Linked DNA regions of Homo sapiens: region 1 is linked to region 2. The links are contacts of gene promoters, found by promoter capture Hi-C in blood cells and fetal thymus (Javierre and others, 2016). All regions are on one chromosome and are shown on one strand. Each heading gives the region's core, a stretch centred on a gene start or on the middle of the fragment in contact. The rest is flanking DNA. Distances are from core to core; before and after follow the strand shown. Region 1 overlaps LOC100507513 (a long non-coding RNA gene). Region 2 holds the start of SLC39A2 (solute carrier family 39 member 2).

Region 1 (3,085 bases), core at 206-2,705, 130 kb after region 2:
CTACCAAAAATAAGAAGGAGTCCACCAGGCCCATGCGAGTGGGCTGCAAGAAGGGGGCATCTGTTCACCTGGATGGCTAGGTTCCTCCTGACAACGGCACCTGAATGACTTGCACCCTACGCCTTCAAATCTGTGCAGCACTGTCAAGGTCTTCTTTGTAAATGCTTCGTCCTTTGCACGCAGGCTCCTGCGTCTTTCTTACAGCCTGTTCCCCACCAACCCCATGTGCCCTACCCCTGCCACAGTGTCAGGGCTTTTGGTGGAGGATAAGGCTGCAGTGGAGGGTTGGTGGGAGGGAGCCTGAATTACGGAAATAATACTCGGGAAAAGACTTGCTCCAACCAAGCTGCTAGACAATCCCCTTCTCCTGGGGCTGATCTTCCCACCAGCTGCTCTCATAAAACCTCCTGATGGCTGGCCCTAGGTTTCCTGGATCATAGGGTCCTTCTGCCTTCTGCGGGACATTCTATGCCTTTCTCCTCAATGGGCTCCTTCGGAGGGTATTAGGGACGATACCCTGGCGGGAAACCGCTTCCTTTAGGGAAACAAATCACTGTGGCTCCAGGGGTGTCACCGGAAAAAGCCGTTTCCGGAGAAGCCGGAGGAGCTTGGGCAACTCCGCAGGCCCAGAGCCTTCGTGGTCTCCCAGTTCCCGTGGCCGTCGTATTGGTCGGCAGGGGGCGCCGCGCCACAAGCTTCCTGCACAAGAGTCCAAAACTTCTTTCTTGGTTTCCTTTGAGACAGGCTGCAGGTTTCTTGGTTGCTGACACGGGTAGACGATAATAGGTGAATAAACAAAATCCAGCCAGCATAAATACAGTCTAACTGTTGAAGAACAGATTTCTGAGTCTACCATAACTTTCATACACTGCAGCACTTTAACGTTGAACCTGCCACCTTCAGATTCACACTGCAGCACCTCAGGTAAGAAGGAAAGGAAGTGAATATGCACTGAGGACCTACTTGTGTTATGAGCTTTACAGTTCAGCTGCGCTGGAGAAGAGTTTATTTCTTTCATGGAATCCATTACATCACCGATCCCCTTCTGAAGGAGGTTATTTTATCCACGAGAGGAAGCATCCAAAGGTGTTCATATTCTCTACCCTGTGACTCCAGCAGAATGGTGACAAGGTTTTGAAGCAAAGGAGGGCACTTGACTCTAGGGCAGCCGTCCATTAACTGACTAGCCCGGTGCCTGTGGAACAGAGTTGCGTGAGGATTTTACCCTTTTGGAATAATCCAGTGACAAAACTGGATACTATTACTTTCATTCCTTCCCCCGATGCCAGGAGGTATAGCTGTTTTGCCTTTGTTCTTGACATTCAGCACTTAGCCTAATGCTCGCTATAAAAGTGCCTTCAAGAAATCTTTAAGGGGCCATTTTGGTAGGTCTGGTTGTTGCTGTGGATCTTTTGTAGATGCCCATTTTTAGATTAGAAAAGTTTCTTCCCTTCTGCTCCTGTTTATGTCTCTTGAATGGATTGGGAATTTCGTTGAATGATGGGATTATACAGCATATTTCTTTAATCAGTTAATGGGGTGAATTAGATTAGTTGATTTTAGAATACTAAACCAACCTTGTATTCCTGGGATAAACCCATTTTGGTTATGTGATATAATCTTTTTTATATATGACTAAATTTAATTTGCTAATATTTTGTTAAATTTTTTTTGCATTTATGTTCACGAATGAGATTGGTCTGTAATTTTTTGTATTGCCTTGTTTAATTTTGGTATCTAGGTTATATGTTAGCTTCCAGAAATGAATTGGGGAGTAGTCCTTCTTTATTTTGTAACTGGAATTATATGTTATTTTAATACTTGGTAGAACTCACATGTAAGGCTGTTTGGTCCTGATATTTTCTTATTTTCTTTGAGACTGCTTTTTCTTTTTTCTTTTCCTTTTTTTTTTTTTTTGGAGATGGGTCTTCCTATGTTGCCCAGGCTAGTGTGCAGTGGCTATTCACAGGTGCAATCACAGAGCATACCTCGAATTACTGGTCTCAACTGATCCTTGAACACTCGGTCTCAGGTGCCTCAAACTCCTGGGCTTGAACTCCTGATCTCGAATAATCCTGCTGCCTCAGCCTCCAGAGTAGCTGGGTCTACAGGTACACACCACCAGGCTTAGCCTCAAACTATTTTAAACTTCTGTTTCAATTTCCTTAATGGTTAAAGAGATGCTAACTTTTCCATTTCTTCTTGAGAAAGCTTTGGTAGATTGTTTTTTCCCACGTAGGAATTTATCCATTTCGTCTAAAGTTCCCAAATATATTAGCACAAAGTTATTCATAATCTGTTTAATATTTATAGCATTGATTTTATGTCCTATTTTTATTCTGACTTTTTTGTACCTTTTTTATTGATAAAACTTTTGAGGTGTGTCTCTCTTATTAGACAGAGATTTTTTCAGACATGCAGAAGCGAGTACTTATAAACTCATGTAGAAACTTTTTTAGAATGGGTCCGTCTTTTTTTTTGAGATTGAGTCTCACTCAGTCACCCAGGCTGGAGTGCAGTGGCACAATCTCGGTTCACTGCAACCTTCGGTTCCTGGGTTCAAGCAACTCTCCTTCCTCAGCCTCCTGAGTAGCTGGGATTACAGGCATGCGCCACCACACCCAGCTAATTTTTGTATTTTTAGTAGAGACAGGGTTTCACCATGTTGGCCAGGCTGGTCTTGAATTCCTTACCTCAGGTGATCTGCCCTCCTCAGCCTCCCAAAGTGCTGGGATTACAGGTGTGAGCCACCGTGCCTGGCCAGGTCCACCTCTTGAGCCACACAGATCTGCTTCCCCAGACAGGTTCAAGAGACAACTCCTCCAGGCTTCCTACCAGTCTCTGTTCCTGAAGGGAAACTTAAGAGGAAGTTTACTGTGGACAAACAAACTGTAGTCACTGTCAATGCCGCAGATCTTGGGGCTGTAACTAGCACCCATCCACTCCTTCCTTTACTATGTATTCTAATCTCCCTTTACCCTTAGGTCTTAGTTGCTTATTCTTATTTACCCTCTCACCAGTTCTGAGGGTTAAGCCCTTGGTAATCATATTTTTCTCAGGCTGAGGTGGCTACACACTTACATTC
Region 2 (3,166 bases), core at 630-3,129:
AAAGGAGAGTGACAGCAAGAGGACAAGGGCTCGGAGGGGACCCTTTGAGGGTGAGGGTAAATGTCCATGGCTGTGGAGTTCGAAGATATGAGCCCCACCCCATTCTTCGTCCTGCACTGTCGATCCTCCAGCAGCCCCAGGACAGCACTGCAATGCCAGCGACTCCAAAAAGAAGACAAAAAAGAAGCCCAGGGAGATGATGAGCTCTCCATAGGGATACTCCATCTAGAAACAAAAAGAAGGGCTGTGAGATGGAAAGGAAGGGTAGGCAATACATTGGATGGACATGGAATTGGGAGATTGAAGAGAATGAGAAAATGTGGTAACAGAACACAAAAAAGGGTAGGGGAAATGAAGCCAAGAGTAGACATGGCCATGCAACAACAAGAATGCCAGAGTGGGCCGGACACAGTGGCTCATGCCTGTAATCCTAGCACTTTGGGAGACTGAAGTGGGCAGATCACTTGAGGTCAGGAGATTGAGACCAGCCTGGCCAACATGATGAAACCCCGTCTCTACTAAAAATACAAAAACTAGCCAGGTGTGGTGGCACGTGCCTGTAATCCCAGCTACTCAGGAGGCTGAGGCAGGAAAATCACTAGAACTCGGAAGGCAGAGGTTGCAGTGAGCCGAGATTGTGCCACTGTACTCCAGTCTGGGCGACAGAGAGATTTCATCTCAACAAACAAACGAAAAACAACAACAACAAAAGACTGCCAGAGGGGCTAAGGGACAGAATCTCAATAGAGTTAAAAACATGGGCAAATGATGTGAGGTATATCAGAGGATCCAGGGAAAGAATGAAAGAGTAAAACAAGGGCTTTCCCTGGCATTCTATAAACTCAAAAGGATTGGATTTGCTCCTCTTTTCCTCTACGATGTCTGAGCTAGGGAGCAGAAGGGATTCTTGGTACTCCTCATGTATTCCTCTCAAAAGGGTCTGGATATGAAAGGCCTCTCTGGTTCTCCTCACTCTCCAGATAGGGGATGGTGGGAGGTACTTACATGAGCTGAATCAGCATCACCAGAAGAATTTCTCTCACTTGCTGATCTGTTCTAAGAAGAAAGCAGCAGAAATTAGATGTGGGATGGAGCAGCACAGCTTCCTGTGCTGTCCCTTCAGCAATTCTGTTTTCCTTAAAGCCTAATCTGACTTGCTTTCACCATCCCACACAAGAGCTGTCATTTTCCTTGTCGTTCCACCCATGTCCTTGGCTCCATCACTTTCCCGCTCTCTTCCCTTTGTCCTGTTTATCATTTTGGCCTCATAGACCTGCGGCTTGAAATCTCTGCTCTCACCTGCACCATGAACTTCTGAATCTGTGATTCAATTTCCTCCAGGGCTTCAGCAGTCATATGCATGAACCCTGCTCCCAGGAAAACACCAGCAGAAATACAGCCCAGGAGTCTGAGGACTAGCCGGTGATGACCTAATAAAAAGCAGAAGTTACAACCCACTTGACACTGAGGAGACAGACAAAGGTGAGTAAAGAGCAGCAGGCAGCACTCAATATCCCAAGGTTGGGGATGGTGAGAGAATCAGAGCAAGGTATCAGGACAGGGTTGAGGTGAGACTCAGGCTATGGAACAAAGATGGGGTAGGGCTATACCTCTGGCTGCATCAATCTGGAACCATTTGAAGCAGATGGGAGTAAGGCCACAGCCCAGAGTGAGAGCCAACAGGGCAAACAGGCAGCCAAGTTTTATTCCTAGTAGTTGCTCCATCTCTGGGGTGTAGGGTAAGCCCAGGAGTCAGAATGACAAGGGAGCTGTAATCTTTGGAGCAGGAGTGGTATCTTAGGTGGTCAACACTGGAGTGTCCACTCTCGTGAGTTTCAGGAGGCTGTTGGTATCTTCTTTCTGTGTTGCTTCTGCTTCTGCAGCATTGCAGAGCTGACAGATCCTGCCCCAGCTTCTAGCCCTCCCCCTGCATGGAGGCCCCTCCCCTGGTTCACGCCTTCCTGAGCTTGGAAACCAGAAACTCCAGACTCCCTGCCAGGCACAGCCCAGTGGCGTCTTCTCCTCCTCTTCAATGGCATGACTAATCCAAGAGCTACGGATAGTCTTAGTTCATGTGCTTGGGGTTGGTCTAATCCAAAATAGGAAAGTCTATGGTAGCTGCTTCCCAGCTATTTTGTACTGGGGACAATCTGGTCCTGTCTCACTCAGGACGTTTGATCTAAGCCTTCCATACCCTCTCCACCTCATCCCAAGTCTTATAGGTTGCAATGCTGATACTTGAACCACCCGCTTTCAGAGATTTGGGGCCACCTGGAGGTAAAGAGGTGGGGCTGAGAGGTGGTGCTGGTGCTACTCTGTGGGAACTAGTACCCACATGAGGGAACTACCCTTTCCTGTAACCCCAGAAAAATAGCTCCAGGCATGGAAATGTCTAGTGGTAAGTTGATTTGTTTTTTTTCTTTCTCTTTTGATTGGGATCAGTTTTGAGAGGAATGAGTTGAGATGTCTGGTATTACAACATTTATACTGTTACAACTTCTAACTGTGCCTGTTTCCTGGTAAGAACTGTGGAAAAAAAGACATTTAAGGTTTAAGACAAAGGAAGCTGCTCTAGCCCTGAAACAGCAAGGCTTAGGGGAAAACAGAAATGAACTGAGTGAATGGGAGGATTCTACCTGGATATAGAGAGGTGGGGGTAGAAGATTCAGTTCTGATGGGAATCACTCTTGATGGAAATGTCTGGGGCATTTCCCATACATACTCTAGGGTAGCTGAGGGACCCTGGGAAAGACAGAAGGGAAGGCGTTAGTACAAGAGGCCAGGCAGCTGCTGATTCCCCTATTCAGGTGGCCCACATAACAACCCTGAGACCTGTTGAGCCAGTTCTCAGAGCTCTGGAGGCAGCTTTCCTTGCTACTCCAGATTATTTTCCTAGGGAAGTCCTGGCCTCTGGTAGAAGCAGTATTCTTACAGTGTTACTGGATGATTCTTACAGTGTTACTGGTCCTGCTGCTTGTTCTTGTGGTCCGGTAATGAGATGCAGACAGACAGACTGGGAAAGACGGGAGTTTATTTCTGCAACTGATTACAGGGAGGTCGGAGTAGCACACCAGACCAACTCAAAGTTACAAGCTTTTCTTTAGCTTTTATATACAATTCAAGCTCTATGACTACCTGCGGGAATGTTTCCTAATTAATCTAAACT

What was found. Contacts are between HindIII fragments. The CHiCAGO score rates a contact against its expected background, and 5 or more counts as called.
Region 1: a fragment that was not itself captured here is called in contact with the fragment with the promoter of SLC39A2 in region 2 in 3 of 17 cell types (M0 macrophages, M2 macrophages and M1 macrophages); the score reaches 9.1 in M0 macrophages.

The regions. Positions count from the first base shown.
Region 1 is chr14:20,871,398-20,874,482 of GRCh38, reverse strand. LOC100507513 (a long non-coding RNA gene) reads left to right here. Exons shown (of 4, transcript XR_110261.4): 3 at 1-924. Among named protein-coding and RNA genes, the nearest start is that of RNASE3, 18 kb to the left of the region's middle. RefSeq lists enhancers at 432-481, 592-691. The HindIII fragment of the contact is 1,516 bases long and covers 698-2,213 here.
Region 2 is chr14:20,998,006-21,001,171 of GRCh38, reverse strand. It overlaps SLC39A2 (solute carrier family 39 member 2), which reads right to left and starts at 1,879. Exons shown (of 4, transcript NM_014579.4): 1 at 1,611-1,879; 2 at 1,300-1,430; 3 at 1,006-1,056; 4 at 1-225. The coding sequence starts at 1,725. It overlaps LOC101929718 (a long non-coding RNA gene), which reads left to right and starts at 2,009. Exons shown (of 4, transcript NR_110139.1): 1 at 2,009-2,398. RefSeq lists an enhancer at 621-1,820. The HindIII fragment of the contact is 5,548 bases long and covers 1-3,095 here.